Regions from separate parts of the Homo sapiens genome. Here regions 1, 2, 3, 4 and 5 are each linked to region 6. The links are contacts of gene promoters, found by promoter capture Hi-C in human tissues and cell types (Jung and others, 2019). All regions are on one chromosome and are shown on one strand. The core of a region is centred on a gene start or on the middle of the fragment in contact, and the rest is flanking DNA. Distances in the headings are between cores, read along the strand shown.

Region 1 (3,684 bases), core at 777-3,276, 210 kb before region 6:
CTGGTCTCTAGCCTGTTAAAGTGCCTGTAGCGCTTCGTCCAACTCAGAGAAATGCTGCCTTGCAGATTGGAGCAGACAAGTACATGGGGCAGAGGAAGTGCAGGCAGCGGACCCCACTCCCCAGTATGTGGGATTGTCTTGATGTGTTGCTTCTCTCCCTCCATAATCGTTTCCCGCCACACTGGGGACCCCTGCTGTCTCCACTACAGTGGGGCCATCTCTCCAGGATGATTTAGCCCCAGACACCATTGGAGGGGCAGCAGCAGGAGACTTGGATCCCCTCTAGCACAGAGGCAAGAGGTGGCAAAAGCAGCTTTGCTCTCTGCACCTGGGAAGACCAGAGTGCAGGCTGTGGCATCCCCTGGCCAGCTGTGAGGGCCGGCTGGAGGGCCTGGCCCATGTGTCTTTCCTCTCGTCCTGTCTCCCCCAGAGTGAAAACGCCAGTGAGGAAGCTGGTGAGGGTGAATATGTCAATCTGTATTCCTCTGGCCAGAGCAGCGAGGAGCTGGCTCCCTCTCGAGGAGTAAGTAACCTCGGGCGGCCTCCTGCATGTGGCCTGGCCTGGTGGGGCTTGGGCTCTGCCCTCCCGAGGCCGCTTCCCCCGCACCTGCTTCTGTTGGGCTGAGCCCCCTCCTAGTCACCAGCAGACTGGGCTCCTGCAGGCTGCTGGGAGCCAGCTCGGCCCTTTGGAGAGGACGTGGCTTCCAGGTGGAGGTCTGCCCTTTGCTCCTGCTTCAGTGCGTGTGGCACTCCTCAGAGCCTGGCCAGATGGGTCATCTAGAAATCTCTGGGACCAGCGTGGCACGGGCCCCGGCTGTGTATCTAGTGCTCTCTGTGGGGTTCCTTCCTCCCTTATCTTCTGGTGTTGGCTTCATCTTCTGTCCCTCATGCAGAGGGAGGGACTCTTCTTCCCATAGGGCCTTTCAGACCTTCATCTCCCTCCCCAGCATGTCCCATTGCTCCAACACTGACTGCTTCTGAGGAAGCGGGTGAGTCTGGCCCATAGCCCCTGCCATGACTATGCACACCCCCTCCTGAGGGAGCCACAAGGTACCCGACGTCAGCACCCTCGTGATGCTGCTGCCCCAGCTCCCGACCATCGCGGTACAGCAGTTCTATTGAGCAATCCACTTTCCACATTTTGCTTCAGCCAAACATGAGCAAGTTCAAAAGCTTCAGAAATTGCTCCCCCCATGAGCCCAGGTGGGACAGGTTCCTTGAAGGGAGGCCCATGAGGGCTGGAAGACTCCCAGTGATCCACCCCAGGGCGGGCCCCCACCCGTGAAGAGCTTGGTCACACCCGTTCAGGTGGTTCTCTCAGCAGGGTCCCCACAGGGGTTCAGAGGCCCACCCAGAGCCAGCCCTGTTTCAGACATTAGCAGGTTATAGAACATTGAAGAGTGTCCACTCCAGTGGGATTTGACCCAGTCCATGGGAGCTGTCTCCTCTGCTGACATGTGCATCTGGCACCCCCCGGCTCAGCCTCCCCATGGTGAAGTCCACGTGCAGGTAGAGGCCAGCTTCGCATGGCTCTCTCCCTCCACTGTGACACTTCCAGGGCTCACTGGCTCCTTGCCTTGAAGCACTCTTTCTGTATTTGTCCTGCCCCAGTTCTCCATCAGGCTCAGCAGCAGACCAGGGATGTTGGCGGGCCATGTTGTCACTGAGTAGGGCCAGCCCAGGGACCCAGGAGGAAGCAAGTCTGCCGGAGGAAGAGGGGACTGGCACCCCAGGGCCTGAGAGCTGGCCCTTTGGGGACTGAACCCGGTTGAGCACTGCAGCCCTGAGGACTTCTTTAAATCAGCAGAGTTTGGTTCACGACAGCAGGGCCCAGTGGTTAAGGGCACAGGCTTTGCAGGTAGATAGCCCTGGGTTCAAATCCAAGCTCTGCTGTTTATGAGCTGTGTGGTCTTGAGCAGGGTCCTTGACTTCTGGCCTCTGTTTCTATGCATGGAGTGGGGACGATGGTGTTAGCTCACTGACGAAGTCAAATGAGGAGAAGTGGGCACAGCCTAGAGCCCAGTCCCTGGCTGTGCTCGGGGGGAGTGGCTATGACAGTCTTCTTTGAGGAGGTAGTTGAGGTGGCTTTGCCTAGGTTGGCAGCTTACAGATGAGACAAATAGTGGCACCTTTCACTTTCTCCAAAGGCCACATGCTAGTCTTGAGGGCTTGTGTTTCCTGTGATTAACGGCATTCATCTTTAATTTGTTCACATCTGAGATTGCTCCATAGGAACTTGCACTCCACAGCCACTTGCAGGCAGGAATGCTGGGAAGACAGAGCAGCCCCGCAGAGGGCCCCTGTCCAGAACTCAGCACCCACTCCTCTTTCCAGGAGCCACCGGCTGGGAAAGACGGACATCCCAGAGATCCCTCAGCGGTCAGCGGCGTCCCTGGGAAGGACAGCAGAGACGGCAGTGAGAGGTAGGAAGTGGACCCAGAGGAGCTGGGTCCCCCGAGAGCAGTGCGCCCACTCATGAGGCCTGCCTGAGCAGCCTCTCCCAGCTAGCCCCTAGGCCTGAGGGTATTTCAAGTTGAAACTCTTCCTTCTTTCCTTATTTCCTTTTTTTGTTTTTTAGAGACAGGGTATTGATCTGTTACCCAGACTGGAGTGCAGTGGCACAATTGCAGCTCACTATAACCTTGAACTCCCGGGCTCAAGCGATCCTCCCACCTCAGCCTCCCAGATAGCTGGGACTACAGGCATGCAGTACCACGCCCAGCTGATTGTTTTAGTTTTTTGTAGAGACGAGGTCTCGCTATGTTGCCTAGGATGGTCACTAACTCCTGGCTTCAAGCGATCCTCCCACATCAGCCTCCCAAAGTGCTGGGCTTACAGGCATGAGCCACTGTACCTGGCCCTCTTCCTTTTTTTCTGATTCTCAAATAATACAAGCTCAGGATAGAAACTGTTGAAAAGCATAGAAAACTGCAAGAAAGCAAGAAAAATCACTAATAACCCCACCCTGCAAAGGCCTTCACATGTAGTTTGCCATTACTTCTTGATTGTTTGCACCTATATTATCTACCTTACAAATTACCCACGATAGCCTTGTCTTTTCTTTTTCAAATCCCAGGCCAACCTCCCTTGGTCTTGGCCTCTTTCAAGTTGATAGGGAGTGTAAAAGACACCCCCTCCACTTACAAACTTGTTATCAGGGACATTTCTAGACATATGTGTGCATGTGATGTTGCTAACAAGAATGTCTTGTATATCTTAATTTTTTGCAGCCAAGATCAGGAGCTGTTCATTGCATTTAGTCATTACAGCTCTTTAATGTCTTATAACTTTTTTTTTTTTTTTTTTTTTTTTGAGACGGAGTCTCACTCTGTCGCCCAGGCTAGAGTGCAGTGGCGCGATCTCGGCTCACTGCAACTTCCGCCTCCCGGGCTCAAGCGATTCTCCCGCCTCAGCTTCCCAAGTAGCTGGGACTACAGGCATGTGCCACCATGCCCGGCTAAGTTTTTATTTATTTATTTATTTTGTATTTTTAGTAGAGACGGGGTTTCACCATGTTAGCCAGGATGGTCTCAATCTCCCGACCTCATGATCCACCTGCCCCAGCCTCCCAAAGTGCTGGGATTACAGGCGTGAGCCATGATGCCTGGCCACATTTTTCAATATTAGCATAAACCAAACCTGACCAAGTGTAGAAATACGTAGTAGATTTCCCCAGTATGCACC
Region 2 (3,995 bases), core at 1,016-3,515, 230 kb before region 6:
TGGCACTTGCGACATGCCTCGAGGGGAAAGTGCCTGCTCAGGAGGTAGCTGAGACTTGCCATCCCTGCACCCGCCATGTGCCCTCGCTTGAGTCCCCAGTTCACATTAGGGTTCCCCATTGGTGTTGCGCGTCTGCCGGTCTGGACGTGTCTCCTCCGTTAGCGCATCAGACAGAGTGTGATTTCATTGCCCGAAAAGTCCTCCGTGCTCCGTCTGTTCGTCCCTCTCTGAGGTGCTTTCAGTGGAAAGCCCCCTAGCTGCTGTGGGAAGAATGGGGGGAGGGGTTCCCTGATGTGGCCTCCCCCGGCCTCGCTGCAGCTTTCTCCCTTGTTTCACAGTGCTGGCCTACATGCAGTTGCTGGAGGACTACTCGGAGCCGCAGCCCTCTATGTTCTACCAGACGCCACAGAACGAGCACATCTACCAGCAGAAGAACAAGCTCCTCATGGAGGTATACGGCTTCAGCGACTCCTTCAGTGGGGTGGACTCCGTGCAGGAGCTGGCCCCGCCGCCCGCCCTACCCCCCAAGCAGCGGCAGCTGGTGAGTGACACCTTCCCTTGTGACTAGAACTTCCGATCCTAGCAGGTCTCTAGGAACCAGAATGACCCTCCTTGGGGGCAGGGTTAACCCTCCTCCCTGCTGTGGCAGGGCCCTGGTTTTGGGCGTGGAAGGCACCATCTCCCACACAGATGCTTTTACTTCCTCCTTAGATGCTCACCAGCAGCCCAGCGCCCACTCCACCACCTCCCCACCCTGGGGTGCAGGGACCTTTCTTTTCCACAGCAGCCCCGCGCAGCAGGGACAGGCTTGTACTCAGGGTGTTTGCTCTCTCTGCTGACAGTCTCTTGTATTTTTTTCTTTCTTCTTTGGCTTCAACATAGACCTCCCAGAAAGGAGGGACTCAATCAAAGCACAGGACATGGTCTGTGCACAGCCATCTGTGGACTTGATTGGCATAATGGGCCTAACTGTGTAGAGTGACTTACAACCCAGCCTTGGCCGGGGAGGGCCCAAGGAAAACAAGTGCCATTGAAGTGGAGGATGGCTTTAAACAGAGCCACTCTGTTTCAGACATGGCACCTTCCTCTTCTAGAAAACACTCGTGTGCTAAGGACTCCTGTGCATGTAAGGAAGCACGGGCCAGCACAGAAGGCAAGCTGTTCCACCGTGGGCACCCCATGAGGCTCTGGAACTGCCCAGGCACTGGGAGGGTGAGCAGATCGGGGGTACCTGTGGCATCCCTCCAAACTTTCTCCCTTTGCTGCCAGTTAATGAACATGGAGGGCCCTAGTCAGGTTTGAAGATCTGAGCCTCTTGTCCAGCCATGCTCCCCAGGAAGAGGAAGCTCCCCAGCAGGGAGCTCCAGGCTTGTTCAGAGCTGCCTGGGCTGCTGCTCTCGTGTGCTGGCCAGTCTGGTGGCTTCTACCAGGAGGCGACTGGTGTGCACTGGGCCATCTTTTATCCATTGCGAGAGGACATGAGGGGCCATCTGATTCTTCTGGGAGGCAGCTGCAGACTGGAGGACAAATGTCCCTGGATTACTCCGTATAATCAATCACCTGGGGCTCAGCCCAGTCCCAGGAGTTCCTGAGCCTTCCTATACTCAGTGGGCTGTGGCTAACCAAGCAAGCTGTTTTGTTTCCACTCAAAAACCACACTCAGCCACTTCAGAGGTGGCCATGTCCAGTAGAGGAAAGGCCAAGCTTGGAGTTGGGAGTCCTGAATTCCAGTCCTGCCACTTGTTAGCCGTGTCGCACGTGCCATTTTCAGAGTCTCAGATCCTCACCTGCCCTGCCCGTCCCACAGACACAATTGAGAATGTGAATCTCAATTGCTCTGAAGATGTTTCAAAAAGGGTCCCACCATGGAAACATAAATGCCTCATTTAGAGACCCCTTGCCTAAAATGTTTGGTTAGAACTGTTGCCGAGAGCCAGGAGTGGTGGTGGCACATGCCTATATTCCCAGCTACTTGGGAGGCTGAGGTGGAGGATCACTTGATCCCAGGAGTTCAAGACCAGCCTGGACAACATAGTGAGACCCTGTCTAAAAAAAAAAAAAAGCCATTGCTGAGCCAGATTTATTGAAAATATTTTCGGCCCATTTGCCATCCTTGGGCATCTTCTCCATACTGTGGAGTCCACAGGCTTCTGAATATTTGGGGAGACACCCCTAGGGAGCACGTGGAATCAGAACCTGTTCTACCACGCCTGCAGGGCAGTGGCGAGCTCAGCCCCCGGAGGCCTGTTAGGAACATCTGTGTTGAACACCTCCCCAGGTAAGCACCAGGGCTCTCATCTGGCTCTACATGGTCCCTGCCACAGCTCCTGGCATCCCCATTATAAGTAAATTGAGGCAGACAGAGCCAGCGAACCTTAATCCAAGCCCACAGCTAGAAACAGAAGACCTGGGAGCCACACCCAATCCTAATGACAGCCCAGGCATACCACCTGACAGGTCCTGCCAGCTGCTGGTCACACCCTCTCTCAAATGCAGATGCAGGAAGCGTTATCCACACTTCACAGACAAAAATGGTGCTCATTACACACACCTGTTGGCCCATGTACAGTGTGGTAAGCAATATTTCAAGTGCTTCACACGTATCATCCCATTTCATCCTCCCAACAGCCCTGTACAGGAGACACTAGGGTTATCCCCATTTTACAGATGGAAAACCTGAGGCACGGAGACCTTTAAGTAGTGCCCAAGGCCAAACGGGTGAGAAATGGCAGGGTCCAGACTCAAACCCAGGCTGCCGGAGCCCCGTCTGAGTTCTGAAGACGTGTGAATGACACATGGATCCACTCCCCACAGAGGAGCAGCTCCAAGCCCAGAGTCAGCCCAGTTCTGTGTGGCTCCAGCCCCCTCGTCCTCCTTCCACCCAACCTGCTTCCAGTGGACACAATTTTTAGGATCTAGTGTAAGGAAATGAAGGAGGGTGCCCTTTCATGCAGATGGCCTTCGGCAGCTGGTTTTAGTCCCTGAACTGGGCCCAGAAGCCATCCCTCTCCAGAACGTCTGTTAGAGGATGTGGAGAGCAACCTCCACGGCCTTTCCCTGCACGGACCTGACTGTTCTCTGCTTCTCTCCCTCCTTCCCTGCCTTCTCTCTCCTCCCCTCTGTCCAGCAGGCCTCCTGTGCTGCTTCTTCCTTCTCCTCTGTCTCCCACTGTGTCCAGCAAACTAAAGTGGCCTTCACCCCCGAGGACGGCAGTGCCGCTCAGGGCCTCAGTGTGTCCGTCTCTAACTCCTTTCTCAGCCGGCACGGCAGCTTGCCCGTGCCCTCGGTGAGTTGCTCCCTGCTGTTCTTTACTTGGAAACGCGTGAACAGGGCCGTTCCTTGGAAGCGTGTGCCTCAGCCATGTGTTCTGCTGCCCGTCGCGGCCCCTGCCCTTCTGCGGGTCCCTACACCTAGATGGGAAGGCTATGAATGGTTGGTTCTCTGGGGCCTTAAAGACCATGAGGCATCCAGGTGAGGCAGGGGCAGGCATGGGAAATGTGAGTGGCCACCTTGGGAGCATCACCAGTCTGGCATAAACTGACAGAGACATTTTAGCCTTTTTATCCCAATCTCGCTTTGGACCTTGGATCAGCCCTCTGTGTTCCAGGATTAAAAAGGAATATAGCCAGGTGTGGTGTCACTCACCTGTAGTCCCCACTCCTCAGGAGGCTGAGACAGGAGGATCACCTGAACTCCAGAGTTCAAGTCCAGCCTGGGCAACATAGTGAAACCCTGTCTCAAAATAAATAGATAAGATAGATGAGATGGATGAGTAGATGGGTGGTACTATTCCTCACGTAGAAAGCCAGGTCGAGGAGAGCAGGCTTCACTAGCGCAGGATGGTTTGACTCTCAGGGATGTATTAGTTTGCTTTTGCTGCATAACAAACCACCCAAAACTTGGTGGCTTAAAATAATAGTGAGCATTTGTCACTGCTTAGGACAGGGGGTAGCAGGATGGGTGTGCTGCTCTGGCCCAGGCTTGGCCAATTTTGG
Region 3 (3,471 bases), core at 929-3,428, 250 kb before region 6:
TTTATTCATTTTTCCAAGAGAGGTCACAGAGAAAAATTCAGTGCTAAAGTACCGCTCATTTAGTGGGGTGCCTGTAAACCCCAGGGGCCATTTGGCAATGTCTGGAGACATTTTTGGTTGTTGCCATAGGAAGGCAAAGCAGATGTTATTGGCTTCTAGTGGGTAGGGGTTGGGAAGCTGCTAAACATCCTACAATACACAGGACAGCCCCCCACACAACAAAGAATTCTCTGCCCCAAAATGTCAGTAGTGCCAAGGCTGAGAAACCTGTTCTGTAGCAGGGAGCTGTAGGTGTGATCTTCACCCAAGAAGGAATGTTACCCCTTTTTCATCATTGCTCATTAGGAAGGGTTGGATGTCTGTGTTCTGTCCCAAGCCACCTGCGTGGGACAAGTAAATGCGAACCTCTTGCTTCGTGGAGGCCCATGGACAGAACCAGAAGCATTGAGAAACTTCCCAGAGTACGTGGACTTAGAGGATTATGTCCAAGAAACCTTGCAGTGGGTCTGTCATCTGCTGCCCTCGTTGATTATTCATTAGCTCTCTTACCACTTAGGGAGTGATTACGTACATTCTTATTTTACTTCAGGTCATATGCATGGCTTTCCCTGCTCAGATACGAGGGAAATGGAAGTGCAGGGAGATGAAAGTACAGATTCAGATTCGCTGCCACTTCCCGAGGGCTCCTTCTCGCCCCAGCCCTGTCCTGGGTGGTTTCAGACATGCTGTCTTATTTACTCCTCACCATAATTGTGTGGGGAAGCTTTTATTATTCCCACTGTGCAGACAGTGTTGGCCCTGGTGCACATTTTCTTGATCAAAATCTGTTTTTCTCACTATATTCTGTTGTCTTCCCAGACTGATTCCACATTAGCAGTCTCTTGCATCTTCTTAGTGAATTTAAAAATTCAAAGTACATTGTGATGAACTTCTAAACTTTTTTGCAACCTTTTAACAAGTCTAGCAGTGAGCTGCAGAGTGTTGAAGTTGTAGAGGAAATTTAGCCATATACTGGGTGTCCAAAGGTATAATTACAATGAGCAGTGAGCAGGGGGTCCTGGGAGGTGTTAATGCCCCATCTCTGAGGGCATTTGGACAGAGATTGGATCCGAGTGCTCTTGGGTGGATTCCTGAAAGCCTTTCCCCTTCAGCTCTTCCAGGGAGATGCTGCTGCCGGACAGCCTGGTGGCAGGTGGTGATTTGGTGCTCTCATTGTAACCAATGTCTGTGTTCGACATGTCTTCTTGCTAGGCCTCACTGTTCTGGACTAATAGGAATAATGTTGCATTGCCATTTTTTTTTTAATCCTGCAATTCTAGTTTTTTATTATACTGATTGTGACTTGCCCTCCCCCTCACTCCCTGGCTTTACCCACATTTTCAGGGTACACTGTCCTATAGTGTGGAAATGAGGCTTATGTTGCTGTGGAGAGGGGAGGCACCCAGGCTGCAGATGGGACAAGGAGTGACAGAGCAAGTCGGGTGTCCCGGCTGCGGCACGGCTGTGGGGAGAGAACTGTCTGGAGAGGAGGGCCAGTTTTCCTCACCCTCTTCCCCGCCATCTCCTGTGGCAGCACATGGCTGTGGAGCCACAGCCTGGGCGTCAGAAATGAATATGGCCCACGGGGCAGGAAAGGCGATGGGGATTTTATGTCCATCTCTGCCATCGGGGTCTTAGTTTACTCGTTTGTTAAATGAGATCTTTTTGACCAGGGGATCTCAAGTAAACTTTTTAACTTCAGCACATTTCTGATCTGGTCTTTATTCTCCTCTCTATCTCTCCAGGCTCTGAACTCAGACAGACCAAGTTCAAATTCCATATCTGTCACTACAGCTGTGTGGCCTTAGGCAAGTTGCTTAACCTCCCCCACGTCCCACTAAGCCTCAGTTTCCCCACCTGTGAAATAATAGTATCCACTTCACAGGGTGGTTGTAACCTTTAAACAAAATAGCCTATATAAAATCCATAGCACAGTGGGTGCCTCCATGTCCCCGATGAGTGGTAGCTACGATCTGGCCTCTTTCTTCCCTTTCAGATGTTCCCATCCTAGGCCCTCTTTCTCTGCTTTATTACTGGCAGGTATATGGTCTCTGGTGTTGGTATAGTGCCTGTTAAATGTTGTGAACCACTTCATATGCTTTCTCATTCAGTCCCCCACAGTCACCTCTTTAGTTACACGGGGCAGATGTTATTCTCCCCATTTTGTGGGTGACAAGCCCAAAGCCCAGCAGTTGGCTTTGTCTCTAAGCCATCCCCAGACACGGACAGCCTCATTTAGTTTCCAGGCTTATGTGGACCAATGATGGCAATCCATCCCCCACAGCAGGAGGGGTGCGCAGGTGAACGCACCTGCCCTCGGGTTATGCAGCGAGGCAGCTTCAGCAAAGCCAAGGCATGGAGTCCCCAGTCCGAGCCAGTGCTGGATGTGGCTGTGTGGCTGTGAACTCTCACTGCTGGCTGCATTCACAAGGATCCCCAGCTTGACAGCTGAAAGGCTGGAGAATGCACAACACCCAGAGGCCATTAATTCTGGGAGTAGAATCTGAGTTCACGGAGGCAGCCTGGCTGTGCTACATTGTTGGCTCCTTTAGGAGGAGCCCAGGACAGCCTGACTCTTAAACAGCTGATTTGATCTCTCTGCAATGACAGAAAAACTCTCTGCTCTGAAGTGCCTTGCCACTTTCGAGTGCCTCCCATCTTCAGATTAGCCACTTTCTCCCTGTGTGACCTGATGACACATTTTCTTAAAATGTTTCCTGTTCCTCAGCAAGTTTCATCATTGCTGGTCTCTAACACTTTCTGATGTGCTAAGGTGGCAGTGTTACTGTCATAGTCCTCTTCTTGCCTGGTTGACCATGGCTTTAGGCACATCTGAGGTCTGTCGGCACTGCGACTCCTTCACACTCAGGTTCCTCCCTGCCCCGGGCAGATGACATGAAGCAGAGAGCTCTTGTCCACGAGGTGGAAAAGTAAGCGCCCAGCCTCTTGGAAACAGACCGTAAACAAATCTGTCAGGTAGTGAAAAGAGAAAAATAAAGCCAGGGTGCAGGACCCAGGGATGGGGATGAGGAAGGGCACTTCCCCCACCATGGGAGAATTGTGTCTTCTAGTCTGCAGGACACCTTGTGGGAAAGACTCAATGAAAGAAATGACTGGGTCTTTTGTGCATTGTCTGACTAAAGTAGCCATTTATATATTTTTCTTTTGACATTCCCATGAAATAAAAGCCTCTACTATTGAACATTTTTATATTTAAAATGATATTCTGCACCTTTTTTTAAACTTTATTTTTTTAATTGAGACGGTGTGTCACTATGTTGCCCAGGCTGGTCCTGACTCCTGGGCTGAAGTGATCTGCCCACCTTGGCCTCCCAAAGTGCTGGGATTATAGGTGTGAGCCACTTCACCTGGCCAATCGGCACTATTTTAGAAGAAAAGAGCTAGTATTCAGAATCATAAGCACTTTTTATT
Region 4 (3,574 bases), core at 638-3,137, 190 kb after region 6:
AGGCTGGAGTGCAGTGGTGTGATCTCGGCTCACCACAACCTCTGCCTCCTGGGTTCAAGTGGTTCTCCTGCCTCAACCTCCCGAGTAGCTGGGACTACAGGGGCGCGCCACCATGCCGGCTAATTTTAGTATTTTTAGTAGAGATGGGGTTTCACTATGTTGGCCAGGCTGGTCTTGAACTCCTGACCTCGTGATCCGCCCGCCTTGGCCTCCCAAAGTGCTGGCATTACAGGCGTGAGCCACTGTGCCCGGCCTTTCCATTGGTTTTTTTAAGCTTCCATTTCTCTGCTGAGATTCCTTATTCAACCACTGTTTCAACTATTTTCCCATAAGCCCTATGAACATGACAGTTAAAGTCTGTCTCCAGTTCCAATATCTGAATCATCTATAGGTTGGTTTTTGCTGATTTTAAAAATTTAATTGTGGGTGTCACTCTCTTTTTTGGTTGCTCTGTATGTTTGTATTATGGAAGAACAGTGGTGACTGAAGAACATTAATGCTTTTCCTAGAGAGTGAGAGCTCCCATTTCGTCTGATTAAAGTGAGGAAATAATTATTCAGATTTCACTAAGGGTTGATCTGGAACAGAGTCACAGATTTAAGAAGACTGAGCTCACCTCTGGTTAGCCCAACAGTCTCCACTTAGGTTTTAGGTTATTGGTCTGTAAGTATCTGAGGTGGGAGGCAAGAGGAAGTATCACCTTTCAAACAAGAGTTCCAGAAAACAGGAGAATGTAAGACCCTGTGAGTTCTTTCTACTTTTTAGTGCTGCTTTAGTTCCTTTTTCTTTGCAAAGTTGGGGAGGATTAGCGGGGGAGAGCTGGAGGATATGTATGCTGAATAAATTATTGTTGCACTTACAAGTCTTTCAGATCCCAATCTGAGTTTTTAATTTTTATATCTGACTGAGGCCAGGTGTAGTGGCTCACGCCTGTAATCCCAGCACTTTGGGAGGCCGAGGCAGGCAGATCACCTAAGGTGAGGAGTTCGAGACCAGCCTGGCCAACATGGTGAAACTCCAACTCTACTAAAAATACAAAAAGTAGCCAGGTGTGACAGTGAACACCTGTAGTCCCAGCTACTACTTGAGAGGCTGAGGTGGGAGAATTGATTGAACCTGGGAGTCGGAGGTTGCAGTGAGCTGAGACTGTGCCACTGCACTCCAGCATGGGCGACAGAGCAAGACTCCGTCTCTAAATAAATAAATAAATTTGACTGACTGAGACAGGGTTCTCACTTTGTCACCCAGGCCAGAGTGCAGTGATAGGAACATAGCTCACTGCAGCAGCCTTGACCTCCCGAGCTCAAGTGATCCTCCCACCTCAGCCTCCTTAGTAGTTGGGACTACAGGCATGCACTGCCACGCCCAGCCAACTTGTGGGTCTTTTTTTTTGTAGAGATGGAATTTTGCCATGTTGCCCAGGCTAGTCTCAAACTCCTGAGCTCAAGCAATCTGCCCATCCCAGCCTCCCAAAGTGCTGGGATCACAGGTGTGTGTGCCACTGCGCCCAGCCTTAGCATATGGTTTTCAAAGTTTATCTATATGTAGCATGAATGAGAACTTCATTCCTTTTTATTATTTATTTTTTTGAGATGGAGTCTCACTCTGTCGCCCAGGCTGGAGTGCAGTGGCGTGATCTCGGCTCACTGCAACCTCCGCCTCCTGGGTTCAAGCGATTCTCCTGCCTCAGCCTCCCAAGTAGCTGGGACTACCGGCGAGCTTCACCATGCCCAGCTAATTTTTGTTTTTAGTAGAGACGGTGTGTCACCATGTTGGCCAGGATGGTCTCCATCTCTTGACTCATGATATGCCTGCCTCAGCCTCCCAAAGTGCTGGGATTAAAGGTGTGAGCCACCATGCCCAGCCGAGAACTTCATTCCTTTTGTTTTTGTTTTGTTTTGTTCTGAGACGGAGTCTCGCTCTGTCGCCCAGGCTGGAGTGCAGTGGCGCGATCTCGGCTCACTGCAAGCTCTGCCTCCTGGGTTCATGCCATTCTCCTGCCTCAGCCTCCCGAGTAGCTGGGACTACAGGCACCCGCCACCACGCCTGGATAATTTTTTGTATTTTTAATAGAGACAGGGTTTCACTGTGTTAGCCAGGATGGTCTCGATCTCCTGACCTCGTGATCCGCCCGCCTCAGCCTCCCAAAGTGCTGGGATTACAGGCGTGAGCCACTGCACCCGGCCAAGAACTTCACTCCTTTTTATGGCTGAAAAATATCCCATGGAATGTATATACCACATTTTGTTTATCCATTCATCTGCTGTTTGACACTTGGGTTGTTTCCACCTTTTGGCTACTGTGAATAATGCTGCAATGAACATTGATGTACAAGTATTTGTTCGAATCCCTTTTTTTCAATTCCTTTGGGTATTCTACCCCAGAGCAGAATTGCTGGGTCATATGGTAGAAGTACTATATTTAGCTTTTTGAGAAACCACCAAACTATAGTAGCTGCACAATTTTGCATTCCCATCAGCAATGTATGAGGGTTCTAATTTCTTTGTATCATTGCTAACACTGGTTATTTTTATTTTTTACTTTTTAAATGATAGCCATCCTAGGGGGTGTGAAGTGGTATCTTATCTAATTGTGGTTTTGATTTTCATTTCCCTCATTAGTTTAATGCTACTTGATCACCTTTTCATGTAATTACTGGTCATTTATTTTGCTTGCCCCCATCACTGCCAACAGCTCCTTCTCCAGCCAGTACATTTTCTCAGTCTTTGGCAAGTCCTCTCTACTACCTGCTCAAACCCAGACCTGGCATCTGCCCCCAGCAGCTGCTGTGCCACAGTGCTCACACCTATGATGGGCTCCACTCTCTGGAAACCAGTTCAACAAGGCTTTCTGCCACTCTTCAATGGTCCCATTATGACAGATATTTTCCAAAGATGATCACAGCAATACTTCTAGTCACATATGCTCTTCTAGAGCAAGAGGCGGCCTCTGTATCTCCTCTTGAACCTGGATGGGACTTTGTGAGTGCCTTGATGAAGAGGATGCAGCCTAAGTGATGTTCTGTGACTTCTGAGGATAGGTCATAAAAGGTTATACAGCTTCAGCATGGCTCTTCCTCTTTCTTGGAATGTTCCTCCTTGGAACCTAGCCACCACGTTGTGAGGAAGCCCAGGCTACATAGGCCAAATGTAGGTGTTCAGCTAACAGCTCCAGCTAAGGTCTGAGCCAACAGCCAAGCCAACCACTGACATCAGAGTGAGCCTTCAGATGACTCCTGCCTCCAGTCTTCCCTTCTTCCAGCTGAGATCACAGATACTGTGAAGACAAGCCATCCCTACTAAGTCCATCTGAAGTTATGACCTACAGAATCCAAGACTATAATAAATAAGTAGCTGTTGCAGGCTACTAGGTTTTGAGGCAATTTGTTATACAGCAGTAAATAATTCCAATACTGCCAGAGTAAGTGTGACTTCTACATCATCTGGATTTTTCTTGGTGTTATTATGGCAGTGAAGGTTTTCTATATTCTTTTACATCCTAGCCAGAATCTGCCTAGCATCTTTAGAGTTTTCTGAGGATACTTCTGCTACCTGAAAGTTCATTCATTTCCACA
Region 5 (3,586 bases), core at 153-2,652, 160 kb before region 6:
GAGGCCGCCGGGCTAGGTGGGACGTCGCTGGTCCCGCAGTTCCCACGAACCAAGCTCCCAGCCCTCTGCAGCTGGGCCTCATAGGATCGTGACGCAAAGGGACTAAAAAACAGGCCCAGAGGGGCCACCTGCCTTGCTGGAGTCACACAGACTGAGCGACTCATCTGGGTGGGAACCCAGGCTGCTGACCCCGCCCCTCCCCGCACTGTCCCACCCCCTTTCCTTGGCAGATGGCCTCTATTGGGAGGTAGTTTCACCCCCAACTAAGGCCTTTATGTCAAAGCTAATTGGACCAGAAAAGGATAATCCGCCCAGGGAAGCCCCTGATTGGCTGTCCTGAGATACACCTCCAATGAAGGGGACGCCTACCTGAGGAGATGAGCTGAACCAATTAGATTCTTGGCTTGGAGTTGTAGGGGAGGGGTGAGGTGCCCAGGAGCTGCCAAACTGTAGCTAGAGTAACATGGTGGAGCCAGGAGGTCACTAAGGGCCATATGCACACTGAGAATGGACACCAGAATATACAGGGCCCAGCAGCTTGAAGCCAGGGCTCAGAGCCTCAAAGCTGCCCAGCTGCCTTGCTCCCGACCCAGGCCCTGGCCTTCAGCACCCAACGATAGGTCCTGGTGGTGCCTGGTCAGGTCCCAACAAATTCTTAAGGCTGCACCTCCTGAGAGCATCCCGACCAGCTGAGCACCAGAGGGCCTCAGGCAAGGGTACAAGGAAGGCCCTGGAAGAGAATCGCAGAGTGGCCTCCCCTGACCTGCGTGGGCATTCAGGCCTCACTGCAGAAGTGGGCAGCCCAGAGCCAGGGGTCTGGCTTTGGAGGTCCATTTCCTAAGTGTCCTTAAGGGTTATAAAAGGCAGAGGGATGAGTGAAACAGACATCACACAGACATCTCAGTGGGGGTGGGAGGACCCTTCCTGAAGTCCCCCACGGGTGGAGGCAGGGATCCTTGCCAGAGTGATCCCAATGGCAGGGAATGATGAGCCCCTGGGCGTGTCCTGCCTCAACCCCCTCCCAGCAGCTAGGGGCTCACTCATGGCCCCTGCACCCCATACACCTGCCACGCTGTTTATACCTCCACACCTTTACCTGTGATGTTCCCTCTGTTTCTCCACCCCTTGGATCTGGGCTTGACCATGTGACGTGCTTTGCACAATGGCACATTGACAAACATTTTGTAAGCAGAAGCTTTAAAAACCTTTCTCTCCAGGTTAACAGGGGCTGGGGCTGGGGAGTTAGTGTTTCAAGGGTGTAGAGTTTCTGTTTGGGAAGATGAGAAAGCGTCCCAGAGATGGATAGTGGTGATGCCTGCACAACAATGTGAGTGTTCTTAATGCCACTGAATCGCACACTTAGAAGTGGTTCAAGTGGTAAATCGTATGTTATACATATTTAGCACCATTTTTTAAAAGCATGTCTTTCCAGCTGATGACAACTGAAAAGTCTAGACAAAATACAAAAAGGAAGCATCTGAGGTCACTGAAAGACAAACAAAAGCAGGGAGGTTGCGGAGTGGAGTCAAAACTTAGAGAATGGCCAGGCACAATGGCTCACGCCTATAATCCCAGCACTTTGGGAGGCCGAGGCAGGTGGATCATCTGAGCTCAGCAGTTCGAGACCACCCAGGGCAACATGATGAAACCCCGTCTCGCTAAAAATACAAAAAAAAAAAAAAAAAAATTAACCAGGTGTGGCAGCACAAGTGTCTAGTCCCGGCTACTTGGGAGGCTGAGGCAGGAGAATTGCTCAAGCCCCAGAGGTGAAGGTTGCAGTGAGCCGAGATCACACCGCTGCACTACAGCTTGGGCTACAGAGTGAGACTCCGTCTCAAAAAAAAAAAAACCTTAGAGGTTGGGCTCCCCCCCAAACTGCATGTGCAGGAGACAAACCCAGACCAGCCTAAAAAAAAACTCTGAAAACTGACCCAAGTTTGGAAATGCCACTCATAGAAGGTGAAACAGAACTTCTGGCCTGAAACTACGCAGGCTGACTGCCTCCTGAAACCAAACAAACCCACCTTCTCCAGGGAATTGTAACAGGACCAAGAATCTACACAACATACTATTCACAATGTCCAGGACACAATCCAAGACTGTTCGCCATACAGTGACCAATGCTCAAAGGAAAAGACACTCAGCAGATGCCAACCCTGAGATGACCTGATATTGGAATTTTCAGAAAAAGCAGCCATTATAACCATGCTCCATGAGGTCAAGGTAAACACACTTGGCCAGACATTGTGGCCTCCTCACAGGAGGGGGCAGTGAGCTGTGATTGAACCACTGCACTCCAGCCTGGACTACAGAGTGAGACCTTGTCCTCTCTAAAAGGGGGAAGTGGCATGTGACAAACTTTCCATGCCTCCATTTCCTCATCTGTAAAGTGAAGATAAATCACAGTAATAATCATTTTTAGAGAGGCGAACATGGCTGGATGCGGTGGCTCACTCCGGTAATCCCAGCAGTTTGGGAGGCCGAGGCGGGTGGGTCAGTTGAGGTCAGGAGTTCCAGACCAGCCTGGCCAACACAGTGACACCTCGTCTCTACTAAAAATACAAAAATTAGCCAGGTGTGGTGGCGGGTTTCACTCGTGTCCGTGTGAAGAGACCACCAAACAGGCTTTGTGTGAGCAATAAAGCTTTTGAATCACCTGGGTGCAGGCAGGCTGAGTCCAAAAAGAGAGTCAGCGAAGGGAGATGGGGTGGGCCGTCTTATAGGATTTGCGTAGGTAAAGGAAAATTACAGTCAAAGGGGGTTGTTCTCTGGTGGGCAGGAGTGGGGGTCACAAGGTGCTCAGTGGGGGAGCTTTTGAGCCAGGATGAGCCAGGAGAAGGAATTTCACAAGGTAATGTCATCAGTTAAGGCAGGAACAGGCCATTTTCACTTCTTTTGTGGTGGAATGTCATCAGTTAAGGCAGGAACCGGCCACCTGGATGTGTACATGCAGGTCACAGGGGATATGATGGCTTAGCTTTGGCTCAGAGGCCTGACATTCCTGTCTTCTTATATTAATTAGAAAAATAAAACAAAATAATGTTGAAGTGTTGGGGCAGCGAAAATTTTTTGGGGGTGGTATGGAGAGATAATGGGCGATGTTTCTCAGGGCTGCTTCAAGCGAGATTAGGGGCGGCGTGGGAACCTAGAGTGGGAGAGATTAAGCTGAAGGAAGATTTTGTGGTAAGAGGTGATATTGTGGGGTTGTTAGAAGGAGCATTTGTCGTATAGAATGATTGGTGATGGCCTGGATGCGGTTTTGTATGAATTGAAAAACTAAACGCAGGTCGGGCGCGGTGGCTCACACCCGTAATCCCAGCATTTTGGGAGGCTGAAGCGGGTGGATCATGAGGTCAGGAGATTGAGACCATCCTGGCTAACACGGTGTAACCCCGTCTCTACTAAAAATACAAAAAATTAGCGGAGCATGGTGGCGGGTGCCTGTAGTCCCAGCTACTCGGGAGGCTGAGGCAGAAGAATGGCGTGAACCCGGGAGGCAGAGCTTGCAGTGAGCCGAGATCGCGCCACTGCACTCCAGCCTGGGAAACACAGTGAGACTCTGTCTCAAAAAAAAAAAAAAAAAAAA
Region 6 (3,619 bases), core at 535-3,034:
CCTTAAACTGACCAACTGCCACACACTCCGGGTCTACTAAGTTCTAGAGACCTCCAAATGCTACTTTTTCCCATCCCTGCCTCCCGAGAGGCTCAGCACTGTATAAGCGCCCACTAATGTTTGGGCCTTGAATTCCTTCTGTATTGTCCATGCCTTAGGCCAGCACCTGTGGCATCCATGGGCACAGTTTGGCTCTATGGGTGGCACCACAAGGGGCTCACGTCTGTCCTAGGACTTGACAGCAGTTATACCAACAACCGTAGGAGGAACCACTAACTGTGCCAGGCCCTCTGCTAGGCCCTTCACCGCTGCCCAAACCTGCCAGGTGGAGGGTGCACGCCCCGATTTATGCAGATGAAGCCTCAGACAGCCCCAGAGTCACTAGGTTTACGGAAGAAAGAAGCAGGATCTGCACCCCAATGCCTGGGCCTCCCCAGTCCCACCTTACACCACAGCGCTGTGCATAGACATGACTAAATGGCTGCAGCGAGATTCGGAAAAACCATGCTAAGACCGCACACAATTGGTTACAAAAACCAAACTGGATGACACTGTACAAAGCCACATCAAATGCACACTAAACCTTAAAGAAAAAAAAAATCTTAGGGAAAGTTTAACAGTCCTGTAAACCAAAGGCATTTAAAGATTTCTCCCAGGAAGCCATTTAGCAAAAGACACTCCCCAGCCCCCCTTCTCCCACTTCCTTCAAGCTCACCACTGAAAACACCTCCAATTCTTGCCTAAAGGTGGGCTCCGACCTCCCACGATATTTAGAAGGAGGAAAAAAGAAAAAGGAAAAAAATCCACCTCTTAAGGCAAATCCACTCTTCAGAGGCCCACAGTTTCAACAGGGCTGAATTTCTCTCCTGGGGGTTGAGGGGAGGCAAAAGAGGAGGAAAAAAAAAAAAACCCCATCTGGCAGGCCCCGAGTGGCGACATCCTGTTTATTATTAAACATTTTTAGCATGGAGCATTCAGCATTTCGAAAATAACCCTCTGGTTCCCGCACTCACACCGAGACTGGGCGGCCGCTCGCCTCCCTCCCCCAGCCGCCAACTTTAGCGCCGCCGGGGCCCGGCCCACCCCGCGCCAGGAACGGCCCCGCGAACGCCGCTCAGCGCCCCGGACCCAAGGCCCGACCCCGCAGGATCCCGCCTCGGGCGCGCTGCTCCGTCAATTGGGCGGGGCGGGGAGCAAAGACGCCGGCCCCAGAACCCCGAGACCCGGCTGCGGGCCCGGGACCCCCGCCCCTCCGGCCTCTGCAGCCCGGCCCGGCCTCGGGGGTACGGGGGTGGCGGGCGAGCCCTGAGGGAGTCGCGCGGCCCCTGGACCCCGCCCGAGCCTGAGGCCGCGCGGCGCCGCCACAACAATGGCGAGCGCGCCCGGGCCCGCCGCCCCCAGGCCCCGCGGCCTCCCAGCCCCGCAGCCCCGCGCCCGGCGGGAAGGAGGCGGCGGCGGCCGCGCTCGCGGACAAAGGTCGGGCAGGGCCGCAGGGCCCCCGGGCCCCCGGCGGCGGCCGCGGGAGACAAAGCCCGGCCGGGCCGCGCCGCCTCCATCTTAGCGCCGCCGCCCCCACGCCCCGGCCCCGGCCCCGGCCCCGACCCACCTGGTCTGGTTCCGCGGGCGCGGCCGGGCCGGGCGATGGCAGTCGGGCGGCGGTCGGGCACGGGGGCGGCGGGATGGCGGCGGATTGCGAGGCGGCGGCGCGGGCTGCTCGCTCGCTCGCTCCCTCCCTCCTCCCGGGCTCGCTCGTCGCTGCGCGGTGGAGCCTCGGCGCCTGTCTCGCCGCTCGCTCCCTCGCGCTCGGCTCCCCGCCCCCCGCCTGCCGCCGCCCCCGCCTCCTCGTCCTCCTCCTCCCGCCGCCGCCCGCAACCTGGGCCCGCGCAGCGCCCCCTGCCGCGCCTCCCGGGAGCGGCGGCCTTGGGATCGGCCCGGGGGCCGGGCGAGGGCTGGGGCCAGGGGGGAGGGGCGGGGAGCGGCGGGAGGGGGCTGGGAGGGGGCTGGGAGTGGGGAGGGGCCCGGGGACGGCGGGAGAGGCGGGAGAGAACGGGGCAGAGCGGGGATCGGGGAGGAGACCCGGAGGAGGGGCCAGGAGCCAAGAGAAGGGGCCTGGGAAGGGCATGGGCCCGGCCTGGGCCCGGGGGAAGGGCGCCCGGAAAGAGGGGGAAGGGATGGAGGGGGCAGTGACGGGGGAGCGAGCCCGGATCTCCGCCCCCTCCCCCTTCAAAACTGCAGCGCCTCAGAACAGACTAAGCCCGGATTTTGTTAAAATATGTATACGGTATATGAACGGAAAGGAAGCAGAAATAATACTTTTTTCATTTCAAAAGCAAGGTTGTTGCACAATATGGGTACTTTGTCCCATTTTTACAAAATGAAAACTAATAAGCCCCTCCTCTTGAGTGTTGTGTGTTTGTGTGATTGCAAAACAAAAGGTCCGGGAGACTGCACTCCTGTCTTGGTTACCTCCGTGGTTTGAGGTTGGGAGAGCGGAGGAGGGTTCTTACTTTTTTAGACACCTAACCAACTATAAAAGCAATTTCAAAAAGCAAATACAAAAAAAAAATGTTAGGGCCTGGCACCCAAATCATCCCACCCTCTTCCAGTCACGGTTGCTCTAAGCACCAGCTGCGGGCCATGCCCTATGCTAAAGCACGTGGTTTGTCTCACTTAATCCTAACCCAGGGGCAGATATTATTGTTCTAATTCACAGGTGAGACAAAGGAGGCTTTGAGAGAATGTGCCCCAGGCCACACTGCTGGACCCAGAAGGAAAATTAACCCACTTCAGCCTAACTCCAGAACTGAGGCTGGTGAACAAAGCTTAGTTTTTGGGGAGTAGAATTCTGGATACTTTTATAGCCTTATTTATAATTCTCTGAATTTTCCTACATTTTATCCATGGTCATTTTCAGTGTTATCCTTTTTTTCTTTTTTCTTTTTTTTTTTTTTTGAGACAGTCTCGCTCTGTCCCCCAGGCTGGAGTGCAGTGGCACAATCCGCAATCTCTGCTCACTGCAACCTCCAACTCCTAGATTCAAGCGATTCTCCTGCCCCAGCCTCCTGAGTAGCTGGGATTACAGACATCTGCCACCATGCCCAGCTAATTTTTGTATTTTTGGTAGAGATGGGATTTCACCATGTTGGCCAAGTTGGTCTGGAACTCCTGCGCTAAAGTGATCCACCTACCTTGGCCTCCCAAAGTGTTGGGATTACAGTGCCGGCCACTCTGTTTTACATCATCAAATCTGCATTATTCCCCTGCCAATGTCTTCAATATTTCGCTATCTCTACAAAACAGGGAGGATGTAACCCTAATTTTTGTTTTCGATTTTGTTCCTTGACCATCTTCAGGAAGGCCATAGAATTGGCCCAGTGCTCAAAACCCAGCAACTAATAAAAATGATAGAAGGCAAATAAACAAATAAAAAATAAATTAAATAAATAAACTGAGCCTCAGGTTCTTCATCTGTAAGGCTGGCGCAGTGGCTAACACCTGTAATCCCACCACTTTGGTAGGTCGAGGCAGGTGGATCATGCGGTCAGGAGTTCAAGACCAGCCTGACCAATATGGTGAAACCCCATCTCTACTAAAAATACAAAAATTAGCCAGGCATGGT

Evidence for each region. The method cuts DNA at HindIII sites, captures the fragments that hold promoters and counts their contacts. A contact is called where the count stands out against the background at its distance.
Region 1: a fragment that was not itself captured here is called in contact with the fragment with the promoter of PRRC2B in region 6 in 1 of the 25 tissues and cell types used here (pancreas).
Region 2: a contact is called between a fragment that was not itself captured here and the fragment with the promoter of PRRC2B in region 6, in 1 of the 25 tissues and cell types used here (pancreas).
Region 3: a contact is called between a fragment that was not itself captured here and the fragment with the promoter of PRRC2B in region 6, in 1 of the 25 tissues and cell types used here (dorsolateral prefrontal cortex).
Region 4: a contact is called between a fragment that was not itself captured here and the fragment with the promoter of PRRC2B in region 6, in 1 of the 25 tissues and cell types used here (pancreas).
Region 5: a contact is called between a fragment that was not itself captured here and the fragment with the promoter of PRRC2B in region 6, in 2 of the 25 tissues and cell types used here (bladder and pancreas).

What each region holds. Positions count from the first base shown.
Region 1 is chr9:131,600,800-131,604,483 of GRCh38, reverse strand. RAPGEF1 (Rap guanine nucleotide exchange factor 1) reads left to right here. Exons shown (of 27, transcript NM_001377935.1): 14 at 431-523; 15 at 2,335-2,423. Among named protein-coding and RNA genes, the nearest start is that of PRRT1B, 57 kb to the right of the region's middle. The HindIII fragment of the contact is 3,531 bases long and covers 261-3,684 here.
Region 2 is chr9:131,618,342-131,622,336 of GRCh38, reverse strand. It overlaps RAPGEF1 (Rap guanine nucleotide exchange factor 1), which reads left to right. Exons shown (of 27, transcript NM_001377935.1): 11 at 339-541; 12 at 3,131-3,286. Among named protein-coding and RNA genes, the nearest start is that of PRRT1B, 75 kb to the right of the region's middle. RefSeq lists enhancers at 816-885, 2,779-3,745. The HindIII fragment of the contact is 4,787 bases long and covers 1-3,995 here.
Region 3 is chr9:131,644,625-131,648,095 of GRCh38, reverse strand. All of the region lies in intron 3 of RAPGEF1 (Rap guanine nucleotide exchange factor 1), which reads left to right. Among named protein-coding and RNA genes, the nearest start is that of RAPGEF1, 94 kb to the left of the region's middle. The HindIII fragment of the contact is 5,406 bases long and covers 1-3,471 here.
Region 4 is chr9:131,207,028-131,210,601 of GRCh38, reverse strand. The region is part of intron 30 of NUP214 (nucleoporin 214); the gene reads right to left. Among named protein-coding and RNA genes, the nearest start is that of FAM78A, 68 kb to the left of the region's middle. The HindIII fragment of the contact is 7,607 bases long and covers 1-3,574 here.
Region 5 is chr9:131,550,941-131,554,526 of GRCh38, reverse strand. The region is part of intron 1 of PRRT1B (proline rich transmembrane protein 1B); the gene reads right to left. Among named protein-coding and RNA genes, the nearest start is that of PRRT1B, 7.2 kb to the right of the region's middle. RefSeq lists an enhancer at 2,611-3,112. The HindIII fragment of the contact is 6,801 bases long and covers 1-3,586 here.
Region 6 is chr9:131,392,251-131,395,869 of GRCh38, reverse strand. It overlaps PRRC2B (proline rich coiled-coil 2B), which reads right to left and starts at 1,784. Exons shown (of 32, transcript NM_013318.4): 1 at 1,607-1,784. RefSeq lists enhancers at 523-1,284, 2,411-2,560 and silencers at 1,091-1,380, 1,611-1,720, 1,751-1,940. The HindIII fragment of the contact is 30,479 bases long and covers 1-3,619 here.